4 separate regions of the Homo sapiens genome follow, and regions 1, 2 and 4 are each linked to region 3. The links are contacts of gene promoters, found by promoter capture Hi-C in blood cells and fetal thymus (Javierre and others, 2016). All regions are on one chromosome and are shown on one strand. Each heading gives the region's core, a stretch centred on a gene start or on the middle of the fragment in contact. The rest is flanking DNA. Distances are from core to core; before and after follow the strand shown.

Region 1 (3,010 bases), core at 291-2,790, 4.6 Mb after region 3:
CTGGTATTTTCCTTACAACCAGAAGTAATGTTTACATTAAACGTAAGAGTCTTTTAATAAATATAAGATTTGCTGGTCCCAGATGTCAAGGTAACATTAAAGAAACCCCTAATTTCTTCTAAGCTGTTGGTTTAGAAACTTACAAAAGCTTCTATCAGGAAACTGTATAGCCAGGAATACAGACCTTAAGAAGCTAATAATGTCAAGTGTGATAAGAAAGAAGTAAATTAACTTACCCTGAAGAGTTAAGGAAGGTCACTCTGAGAAAGGCCTTTGAACTGTGACTGGAGCCTAATGAAAAGATGGGAGTGAGGCTTGTGGGGTGGTGAGGGGCAGCGCCCAGCAGAAGGACCAGGAAGTGCAAAAGCTTGAAGGTGAGAGAACAGGACTTCCTTCAATTCAGTAGGAGGCTACTACTAAGAGGGGGAACCGGGTGAAGTGAGTCCCGCCTGGAGAACAAGTGAAGCAGGTGCCAGAGCATGGGTTATGTGGCCTTAGAGCCACATTAAGGGCTTAGGGCTGGGCGAGCCACGGTGCAACAACTAAATTCTTCTCATTTCAGGAGTCTGGTTTTACAGTACTTCCTATTCCTAGAAATCTGGATGGTGGGCTAAGTTCAAACATCTTATTTTAGTTTTGAGCAAATTCCTCAGTCCCTGCCATATTTAATTCTGTATGTCATTACTTATAAAGTACTAACTACAGTCATGCATTGCTTAAGGATGGGATTACGTTCTGAGAAATGCCTCATTAGGCAGTTCCATGGCTGTGTGAATATCAGAGTGTACTTACACAGACTTAGACAGTACAACATCCTACACACCCGGGCCATATGGTATAGCCTATTGCCCCTAGGCTACAATCTGTACAGCATACTACTGTACTGAATACTGTAGGCAACTGTAACATAATGGTACGTATTTGTGTGTCTAAACATAGAAAAGGTACAGTACTGTATAAACGATAAAAAGTGACACAACTGGATAGGGCACTGGCCATGAGTGGAGCATGCAGGACTGGAAGTTGCTCTGGGTTGAGTCAGTGAGTGAGTGGTGAGTGAATGTGAAGGCCTAGGACATTACTGAACACTTTGTAAACACAATACACTTATGCTACAATACATTTATTTTATTTAGTTATTTAGTTAGTGCTGGGATTACAGGCATGAGCCACTGTGCTTTAGTTATTTAGTTAGTGCTGGGATTACAGGCATGAGCCACTGTGCCTGGCCAGACTACACTAAATTTATTAAAAATATTTTTCTTTCATCAATAATAAATTAACCTTGGCTTACTGGAACTTTTTTACTTTATAAACTTTAAAAATTTTAAAAACTTTTAGACTATTTTGTAATAACACTTAGCTTAAAACACAATGTTCAACTGCACAAAAATATTTTCTTTCTATATATCTTTATTCCATAAGGTTTTTCCTATTTCTTTTTTTAACTTTTTAAACTTTTTTGTTAAAAACTAAGACACAAACACACACATGAGCCCAGGCCCGCACAGGGTCAGGATCATTAACATCAATCACAGTCTCCACCTCCACATGCTGTCCCACTGGAAGGTCTGCAAGAGCAATAACGCACATGGCGCTGTCATCTCCTATGACAACACTGCCTTCTTCTGAAATATCTCCTGAAGGACCTGCCTAAGGTTATTTTACAGTTAACTTTTTGTTCTTGTTGTTAAGTAGGAGTACATTCTAAAATTATGATAAGGCCAGGCACGGGAACTCATGCTTGTAATTCTAGCACTTTGGGAGGCTGAGGCAGGAGGACTGCTTGAGCATAGGAATTCAAGACCAGCCTGGGCAACATGGAGAAACCCCGTCTCTACAAAAATACAAAAATTAGTGAGGTGTGGTGGTGAGGGCCTGTAGTCCCAGCTACTTGGGAGGTTGAGGTGGGAGGATTGCTTGAGCCCAGGAGATGGAGACTGCAGTGAGCCCTGATTGCACTACTGCATTCCAGCCTGGGCAACAGCAAGACCTTGTCTCAGAAAAATAAAATACAATAAAATAATGATAAAGAGTATAGTAAATACATAAGCCAGTAACATAGTCATTTATCATCAAGTGTTAGGCACTGAACATCATTGTATATGCTATACTTTTACATGACTGGCAGTGCAGTAGGTTGGTTTACACCTACTCACAAACACGAGTAATGCATTTGACTTAACGAACAACTATTATGTCACTAAGCGACAGGAATTTTTCAGCTCCATGATAATCTTATGGCACCACTGTCATGTGTAAGGTCTGTCGTTGACTGAAACGCCATCATGTGGTGCATGACTACATATACTGTAACTCTGTTGCTAAGGACTTTATATACAGCTTCATTGAATCTTCATAACCGTGAGAAATAGACGAGAAAACTGAATGGTTAAGGACATAGCTAAGATCACACAACTGGAACACAGCACAGCCAGGATGCAAATCCAAGGTGTCTGACCACGCCCTAGCATTGAGGTTTTTCGGTAAGGTACTGTTCTTCTGCTTAAGGAACCTGCAGTCCAGTGGACGATCTACAATAGAAAACTGCCAGCCACAGGCACACCCATGAGGCTTAACTCAAGTTCTCAATGAAAAGAATGTTTAAGTTGAGATTGGAAGGATGAGATGGAGGGGAGGGGCTGTGAGCTTCAGAGAGTCAAATAAATTGCCGGTGTGACAAACACTAACGAACAAGCCATCTTCACAAAAGGGAAGCTTGCAAATTCACTGGTACTGTGAATACAGCGTTCACTTCTATGCAGACAGAGCCTAAACAAAAGTCAAACCAAATTTCTCAAGATTCTTCATAGAAACCGAACAGAAATTCTCTCTATATATACTCATGAAAGAAAACAACAAAGTTTTCTGAAATAAAAATAACTATAAATAGGTACCACAGTCAATATATACCTACTGGCAAAAGTCAAGGTCATGTCTAGCTAAATGTAGACAGTCCTCACCTCCCCACAAACTCTGTCCTTATTACAACTTTGCCTTAGTCCCTGGC
Region 2 (2,990 bases), core at 71-2,570, 4.9 Mb after region 3:
GACCCTGCGGCCTTCCGCAGTGTTTGTGTCCCTGGGTACTTGAGATTAGGGAGTGGTGATGACTCTTAACGAGCATGCTGCCTTCAAGCATCTGTTTAACAAAGCACATCTTGCACCACCCTTAATCCATTCAACCCCTGAGTGGACACAGCATATGTTTCAGAGAGCACAGGGTTGGGGGTAAGGTCACAGATCAACAGGATCCCAAGGCAGAAGAATTTTTCTTAGTACAGAACAAAATGAAAAGTCTCCCACGTCTACTTGTTTCTACACAGACACAGCAACCATCCGATTTCTCAATCTTTTCCCCACCTTTCCCCCCTTTCTATTCCACAAAGCCGCCATTGTCATCCTGGCCCGTTCTCAATGAGCTGTTGAGTACACCTCCCAGACGGGGTGGTGGCCGGGCAGAGGGGCTCCTCACTTCCCAGTAGGGGCGGCCGGGCAGAGGTGCCCCTCACCTCCCGGACGGGGCGGCTGGCTGGGCGGGGGGCTGGCCCCCCCACCTCCCTCCCGGACAGGGCGGCTGGCTGGGCAGAGGGGCTCCTCACTTTCCAGTAGGGGCGGCCGGGCAGAGGCGCCCCTCACCTCCCGGACGGGGCGGCTGGCCGGGCGGGGGGCTGACTCCCCCACCTCCCTCCCGGACGGGGCGGCTGGCTGGGTGGGGGGCTGACCCCCCCACCTCCCTCTTGGACGGGGCGGCTGGCCGGGCAGAGGGGCTCCTCACTTACCAGTAGGGGCGGCCGGGCAGAGGCGCCCCTCACCTCCCAGACGGGGCGGCTGGCCGGGTGGGGGGCTGACTCCCCCACCTCCCTCCCGGACGGGGCGGCTGGCCGGGCAGAGGGGCTCCTCACTTACCAGTAGGGGCGGCCGGGCAGAGGCGCCCCTCACCTCCCGGATGGGGCGGCTGGCCGGGCAGGGGGCTGACCCCCCCACCTCCCTCCCGGACGGGGCGGCTGGCTGGGCAGAGGGGCTCCTCACTTCCCAGTAGGGGCGGCCGGGCAGAGGCGCCCCTCACCTCCCGGACGGGGAGGCTGGCCGGGCGGGGGCTGACCCCCCCACCTCCCTCCCGGACGGGGCGGCTGGTCGGGCGGGGGCTGATCCCCCCCACCTCCCTCCCGGACGGGGCGGCTGGCCGGGCGGGGGGCTGATCCCCCCACCTCCCTTCCCGGACGGGGCGGCTGGCCGGGCGGTGGGCTGACCCCCCGACCTCCCTCCCGGACGGGGCGGCTGGCCGGGCGGGGGGCTGACCTCCCCACCTCCCTCCCGGACGGGGCGGCTGGCCGGGCGGGGGGCTGACCCCCCCACCTCCTTCCCGGACAGGGCGGCTGGCCGGGCAGAGGGGCTCCTCACTTCCCAGTAGGGGCGGCCGGGCAGAGGCGCCCCTCACCTCCCGGACGGGGCGGCTGGCCGGGCGGGGGGCTGACCCCCCCACCTCCTTCCCGGACGGGGCGGCTGGCCGGGCAGAGGTGCTCCTCACATCCCAGTAGGGGTGGCCGGGCAGAGGCGCCCCTCACCTCCAGGAGAGGGCGGCTGGCTGGGCGGGGGGCTGACCCCCCCACCTCCCTTCCGGACAGGGCGGCTGGCCGGGCGGGGGGCTGACCCCCACCTCCCTCCTGGATGGGGTGGCTGCCGGGCGGAGACGCTCCTCACTTCCCAGACGGTGTAGCTGCCGGGCGGAGGGGCTCCTCACTTCTCAGACGGGGTGGTTGCCAGGCAGAGGGTCTCCTCACTTCTCAGACGGGGCGGCCGGGCAGAGATGCTCCTCACATCCCAGACGGGGCAGCAGGGCAGAGGCACTCCCCACATCTCAGACGATGGGCGGCCGGGCAGAGACGCTCCTCACTTCCTAGATGGGATGGCGGCCGGGCAGAGACGCTCCTCACTTTCCAGACTGGGCAGCCAGGCAGAGAGGCTCCTCACTTCCCAGACGGGGTGGCAGCCGGGCAGAGGCTGCAATCTCGGCACTTTGGGGGGCCAAGGCAGGCAGCTGGGAGGTGGAGGTTGTATCGAGCCGAGATCACGCCACTGCACTCCAGCCTGGGCACCATTGAGCACTGAGTGAACGTGACTCCGTCTGCCATCCCGGCACCTCGGGAGGCTGAGGCTGGCGGATCACTCGCGGTTAGGAGCTGGAGACCAGCCCGGCCAACACAGCGAAACCCCGTCTCCACCAAAAAAATACGAAAACCAGTCAGGCGTGGCGGCGCGCGCCTGCAATCACAGGCACTCGGCAGGCTGAGGCAGGAGAATCAGGCAGGGAGGTTGCAGTGAGCCGAGATGGCAGCAGTACAGTCCAGCTTCGGCTCGGCATCAGAGGGAGACCGTGGAAAGAGAGGGAGAGGGAGACCGTGGGGAGAGGGAGAGGGAAAGGGAGAGGGAGAGCTTGTCTAAATTTTCAATGGTATCAGTACAATGTTCAGAATTTCCTTTACTATCTTTTTAATGTCAGTAGGATTACAGTGGTGTCCTTATTTTTATTTTTAATATCAATAAATTGTGTTCTCCCTTTCTTGATTACCCTTGCCAGGAGTCTATCAATTTTTTTATTCTTTTAAAAGAACTAACTTAGGACTCTGTTGGTTTTCTCTTTTGTACCTTTGTTTTTTAGGTCATTAATTTTTTAATTAGTTCTTTCCTTCTACTTTATTTGGGCTTAATTCTCCCACCACACACACACACACAGATACACATTTTGAGATGGAAACCTAGGTCATTAATTTTTCAATCTTCTTTTATACATTCATAGCTATTCATTTCTTTTAAGTGAAATTATTCTATTCAATTCACAACTTTAATTGCGTTTCATAAGTTTTGATGTGTTATATTTTCATTATCAATGAACTAAAAATACTTTTTAGGCCAGGCATGGTGGCTCACACCTATAGACCCAACACTGGGAGGTGGAGGCAGGAGGATCACTTGAGCCCAGGAGTTCGAGACCAGCCTAGGCAACATAGTGAGTCCCCATCTCTACAAAAAATTTTTTA
Region 3 (2,953 bases), core at 277-2,776:
AGCTTGTGACATCCAGGGACGTACCCAACCCAGGTCATCCATACCTTGCCAGTGCCCATTACTGCTGTTTTGTTTTCCAAGAGAAAATGCCACCCAGTAATTAAATCAGAGGAATGAAGATCCTGGCTCTTCTACTAGCATGGATAACATGCAATAAGTAACAACAGTTCTCCGCAAATCTGCCTTTAAAGGTGAGTATGACACACTGAATATACTTGAGATATCAAAAATGTGCGGGGGCATGTTCCCCTTTGGCTCAAATGAAGACACTGATTTTCAGATCTAGCAGTAATGTGCAGCACCCCAGTGTCCTCTAGGACACACCTAACACGGGACCGGATCCCTTGGGACACAGTGGTGTGCTCCACAACATACATTTAATGGGCTGGTGCAAACCTGTAAAGTCTCTTAAAGGTCTAACGCGTTAGGATTCTCTTTAAGAATCCAGTAAATTTTGTCCCCAGTTCTGCCTGTCATTAAGCAGGAGGTATTGTCTTCTGCTGCCTAACTTTGCTATGGATCTTTTAATCCAATGTTTCCAGCAGCAACATAATCACGAGAAACTGTAGCACACTTTTCAGGGTCTAGTCTAGGACAAGCACAGCATACATGTTCTGAGAGGAATGACATAGATGGAAGCAAGACATGTTACATCCTTGTCACTTGGAAACAATTTTAGAATTTCTGCCTGTTTGGCCACGGCTGCATTCCTTTACATCACCCAGCTGAGAAGTCTGGGTCTTCAGCCTGCGCGAATGACAGTGCGTGGCAGAGCTAAAACTAGGCTAAAACATGAGTGCTGCTGTTACTCTACATGCCACAGCGCACTCACATCACCCCGAATCGGACTTAAGAAATTACACGTTAAGAGGAGACAGAGCAGGGGCCAGAAAAAAAAAGATGAAAACGGCCCGGGCCAGGCTCGCTGGGGACAGCCGGGACCCGCGGCGGCCTCGGACCGGCACCCTCACCGCGGGCGGAAACCCGTCTCTGAGCACTCAGGGAATCTGGACAAACCTGTCTCGAGGTGATGCAAGGCGGGGGCCCTGTCCTGGCCTCGCAGCTAGCTCGATGCTGGCCCGGGAGCCGCGGGCCCCTCCAGTGGGGGGGCTCTGGGGCCCGGCGACGCCCCCTTAACCAGAGCTCGGGGTCGGGACCCGGCCGGGGAGGGCGGGCACGGGCCGGGGCGAGCCAGCTGGGCCCCCCTCTCCCTCGGGCCGGGCCAGCCCAGCTCCAGCCGCAGTCCCCAGCAGCAGTCCCGGGCTGCGAGGCGGCCAGCGCAGCAGGTGCCTGCAAACGCGCACAGGTGCCCGGCCCCGCCTCCGTGTCCCACTGCGGCCGCCGTCGCCGAGTCGCGAGCGCCTAGAAAGATGGACAAATGCCGGGCCCGTGGAGGCTGGCGGCCAGATTTACAGACACCTCAGCCCTCGCGTACCCACCAGCCTGCCGGGCAGTAAGCCTCACCCCAGTGCCTTCAATGCAGAGCTCCTGGCTGCCAAGCGCCGCCGCGGCCCGACAGCATCTCCCGCCGCAGCGCCAGCCCTGCCCCTGCTTGATCCCCGCCCCGCCCCACCCCGCCCTGCCCTGCCCTGCCCTGCCCTCGGCAGCGGGCTCCGCCCCCTGCTGCACGATCCTGGGGCCCGAGGCTTCCGCCTGGCCTCCCGGCGCCAACTGGCTCTCACACCTGCCCGTCAAAGACGTTCTTCCGGGGGCGTTGGGAAGAACACACTCGGTCCTGCAAATCAAATCACCCCGGTTTGGGTGGGACTGCACTTGACCCTCCCCTTACGTAACAGCGCCTGGGACGGCCTGTCAGTCATGGAAGTATCGGCCCCCCGGGGAGGGATGGGGCAGAGACAAACAAGCGCCGGGTCACAATTGGCCAGGGCGTCTGCCAGTCACCACGGAGACCTTCCCGGAGGTTTATTCGCACAGCCCACAGCGCAACCGCCATGCGCAGGGGCTGGGGCATACGCTAACGTCTGCAAGCCAAGCTTTTGGGGAGGGCCGGGCCGCGCGACTGCCCAGTGGCTCCCATCGCTAGGTCCTACTGCGTTGGGCGGCGCTGCGAGGCCCGAGGCCGCCACGTCGGGCCCACAGGGTACCAGGGGTCAGAAGGACACTTGGCGTGGCATCAAGAAACGCCCGTTCTCTCCATCAGTGCAGGAGCTGAAGGCTGGAGCTGAAGGGAGCTCAGCTCCAAGTGGGCCCTGGGCACTAGAGCAGCCAGAGGAGCTTTGTAAATCTGTGTGTGTCGGCCCCGACCTGCAGCATCCGAGTGGGGGCCGGGGGCTGGGGGGAGGGGGGAGGCTGAGGACCAGGAATCCACATCTGTCACAGTTCGCTGCTGATTCTGGCGCACACTGAAGTTGGAGAACCTCTCCCATAGCAACATAGTTCCTGGTCTTTTTTTTTTTTTTTTTTTTTAATTCACACGCTCTCATTTGGACCTCCCGTCTGCTTTCCCATGGAGGTCTCTCTCTGGCCTAATTCTGTGACTGCTGCCAGCTGCTTTCCAGGCCTGTTCTTACCAACGGTGCCTCCCCGTGGTTAGTCCGTCCAATCTCGGCACTCCACTTCCACACTTGCGCGACAGCCCTCTCCCCGCAAGCCCCTGCCCCTTTTCTAGACACCAGAGGCACTGACCTGTCTGTGACACCGCCTCAGTGTCTTACACTCAGAAGCCGCATTCTCTGGCCGGGTTGTTTGGTCCATTTTTGGTTGCCTCTGAGATTCTGGTAAGTGACTTATTAAAGGGCAGGAAGCCAAATTCTCCTGATGTTAATCCCAAGGGTTGGTTCTGAAACCCAGCTTCCTCCCCTAGCTGAAAACACTTCTGAGCCACTTCCTTTTGTCCCCTTAGGACACATTTAGGAATGTTATCATGCCTTTTAATACGAGTCTTAATACAGAAAGGCAGGCAAGCAGGAAATCCTTTTTTCAGGCCACAGGT
Region 4 (2,788 bases), core at 262-2,761, 3.3 Mb before region 3:
CTCACTGTATCCTCTAACTCTTGGGCTCAAGTGATCCTCCTGCCTTAGCTTCCTGGAGTAGCTGGGACTACAGGCACATGTCACCACACCTGCCTAATTTTTTTATTTTTACTTTTTGTAGAGATGGGGCCTCCATTTGTTGCCTAGGCTGGTCTTCAACCGGCCTCAAGCAGTCCTCCCACCTTGGCCTCACAGAGTGCTGGGATTATAGGCATGAGCCACCATTCTCGCCAGTATCCTTATTTCTTAACTTTAGAAAGTTTTTCTATTTTTAATATAGGTATTTAAAAAAATCTGAATTCAGAGTGCACCTCGATGTTATGCTGTTCTGAGATTAAATATACTAAAACTGTTACCATTGTTTTCTGAATTCTTAAGATGTGACTGATAGTTAGCTAATAGGTTAACACATTGTGGTGGTTCTTGGCCTCTGAACTGATAGTCCAGATGGGGAGAGGAGACCAGAAAGCATGTGAAAATGGACTAGAACCATGGGACAGCTATATAGTCTCTCGCAGCTGTCTTTTGTGTTCTCTGCTTCCACCAAATTGGTTGATTTATTTAGAATGCTGACCTCTTGCATTGCCTAAGTCCTTGATGTTTTTGGTTTCTCCTCTGAACTCTCAAAGGTACTCACTTCATGCTCTTGGTATAGCCCACTTATGTTTAACTTTCCTTTTATTATGTGTTCCCTCTTACACATGACATGGACATTTCTTTAATATGTAGAGTAAGATATTGGATTTCATCCTAAAGTCTTCAAAATAAAACTCTTGAGCTCATCATCTCAGACTTCTTCATGTACCCACAGACCAGGGATTTTGTTTGCTTTTTAAAACATTTTTTTATTTTGTGTTTTATTATTTTTAAATTTTAATTTAATTTTATGGAGACAGGGTCTCGCTCTGTTGCCCAGGCTGGAGTGCAGTGGTGTGATCTCGGCTCACTGCAGCCTTTGCCTGGGCTCAAGCCATCCACATGCCTTGGCCTCCCAGTGTGCTGGGATTACAGGTGTGAGCCACTGTGCCTGGCCTAAATTTATTTTTTTAATTTTTTTTGAGACAGGGTCTTGCTCTGTCGCTCAGGCTGGAGTGCAGTGTCATAATCATGGGTCACAGCAGCCTTGGCCTCCCAGGCTGAAGTGAACTTCCCACCTCAGCCTCCTGAGTAGTTGGGACTACAGGCGAGTGCCACCATGCCTGGCTCATTTTGGTTTTTTTTGTAAAGATGGGGTCTTGTCATGTTGCCCATGAAGGTCTCCAACTCCTGGTCCAAGTGATCCTCCCGCCTCCGCCTAGCAAAATGTTGGGATTACAGGTGTGAGCCACCATGCCTGGCCTTATTTATTTATTTAATTATGAATGAATGAATGAATTAATGAGAGGGAGTCTTGCTCTCTTGCCCAGGCTGGAGTGTGGTGGCACAATCTTGGCCCACTGCAACCTCCGTCTCCCAGGTTCGAGCAATTCTCCTGCCTCAGCCTCCCGAGTAACTGGGATTACAGGCGCCCGCCACCATGCCCAGGTAATTTTTGTATTTTTAGTAGAGATGGGGTCTCACCATGTTGGCCAGACTGGTTTCGAACTTCTGACCTCAAGTGATCTGCCCACCTTGGCTTCCCAAAGTGTCAGGATTACAGGCATGAGCCACCATGCCTGGCCTGGCCTTTTATGTTTTAAGTTGCTTCCACTGATTCTCTTGGGCTTTGCTCCCCTCCAGAACTGGCCATGGTTTAGGATGCTGTCCACCTGCTGCTGCTTGTCCATGAAAACGAGCCATAAACCCTTTTCTTTTGAAAGACTTAATTGTTTATCACTATGGAGAAAGAGGGGATGGCAAGAAGTAGCAAATACAGGGAATTTGCAGAACTTGGTCTTGAGCCCTGGGTCCAGAAACTTCTTCTGGAAGGTGCTTGGTGTTTGTCCAAGCTCATGATAGGTTTCTGTTGGCTGTACTGCCAGATCTGTAGATGCTTTTTTAAGGCTTGGATGACTTGTTCAAAACAATGTTTTGGAGTACAAATTTGGCTGTGGGGACATCAAGACCTTGTTGGGAAACTTGGGTTTAAGGTACAATTTCTTAAACTAGGATGGTGGGAATGGGGATGTGAAGGGAGAATGAATGTGAGAGGTATTACAGGGTAAGGATGGAGATGATTCAGATTCCTTAAGTGGATTTAATAATCACACTGTAGCTTTGAACTTGAGTGACTGGGGAAATATTTGTGGTGTTTTTGGAAATAAGGGCCAGAAGGACTATTGGTTTGGGTAAGAAGATAGTAGGGGGATGTATAGGTGGACCTGCTAGTGGGGAGCTGAGATTTGGAGGGCTGAGATGTAGTGCTCTTCACTGCCGTAGGGCAGTATCCTCTTGTATGTGCCATCCTCTAGTGCCCATTGTTCATCATGTCATAGTAAGCCCAAGATGTTCATGCCTTTTTTCAGCACTGCATTAGGGCTTATATCTGCTTCTCTTTCTCTCTCTCTCTCGCTCTCGCTCCCTCCCTCTCTCTCTCTTTCTGTTTTTTTTTTTTTTTTAGACGGAGTTTCACTTGTGTTGCCCAGGTTGGAGTGCAGTGGCGCGATCTTGGCTCATTGCAACCTCTGACTCCCGGGTTCAAGCAATTCTCCTGCCTCAGCCTCCCAAGTAGCTGGGATTACAGGCATGTGCCACCATGCCTAATTTTGTATCTTTAGTAGAGATGGGGTTTCTCCATGTTGGTCAGGCTGGTGTCAAACTCCCAACATCAGGTGATCTACCTGCCTCGGCCGCCCAAAGTGCTGGGATT

The links. Contacts are between HindIII fragments. The CHiCAGO score rates a contact against its expected background, and 5 or more counts as called.
Region 1: a contact is called between a fragment that was not itself captured here and the fragment with the promoter of AKTIP in region 3, in 1 of 17 cell types (monocytes). The highest score is 5.8, in monocytes.
Region 2: a fragment that was not itself captured here is called in contact with the fragment with the promoter of AKTIP in region 3 in 1 of 17 cell types (naive CD4 T cells); the score reaches 5.0 in naive CD4 T cells.
Region 4: a fragment that was not itself captured here is called in contact with the fragment with the promoter of AKTIP in region 3 in 1 of 17 cell types (naive CD8 T cells); the score reaches 7.3 in naive CD8 T cells.

The regions. Positions count from the first base shown.
Region 1 is chr16:58,123,681-58,126,690 of GRCh38, forward strand. All of the region lies in intron 1 of CFAP20 (cilia and flagella associated protein 20), which reads right to left. Among named protein-coding and RNA genes, the nearest start is that of CFAP20, 4.2 kb to the right of the region's middle. The HindIII fragment of the contact is 2,351 bases long and covers 366-2,716 here.
Region 2 is chr16:58,395,468-58,398,457 of GRCh38, forward strand. All of the region lies in intron 1 of GINS3 (GINS complex subunit 3), which reads left to right. Among named protein-coding and RNA genes, the nearest start is that of GINS3, 4.5 kb to the left of the region's middle. RefSeq lists an enhancer at 1-471. The HindIII fragment of the contact is 6,974 bases long and covers 1-2,990 here.
Region 3 is chr16:53,501,683-53,504,635 of GRCh38, forward strand. AKTIP (AKT interacting protein) reads right to left here and starts at 1,527. Exons shown (of 10, transcript NM_022476.4): 1 at 1,465-1,527. LOC124903690 (a long non-coding RNA gene) reads left to right here and starts at 2,698. Exons shown (of 2, transcript XR_007065069.1): 1 at 2,698-2,738. RefSeq lists enhancers at 723-1,224, 1,225-1,724, 2,185-2,284 and silencers at 995-1,294, 1,555-1,624, 1,645-1,884, 2,605-2,694. The HindIII fragment of the contact is 2,307 bases long and covers 1-1,992 here.
Region 4 is chr16:50,156,726-50,159,513 of GRCh38, forward strand. The region is part of intron 1 of TENT4B (terminal nucleotidyltransferase 4B); the gene reads left to right. Among named protein-coding and RNA genes, the nearest start is that of TENT4B, 4.8 kb to the left of the region's middle. The HindIII fragment of the contact is 5,097 bases long and covers 1-2,788 here.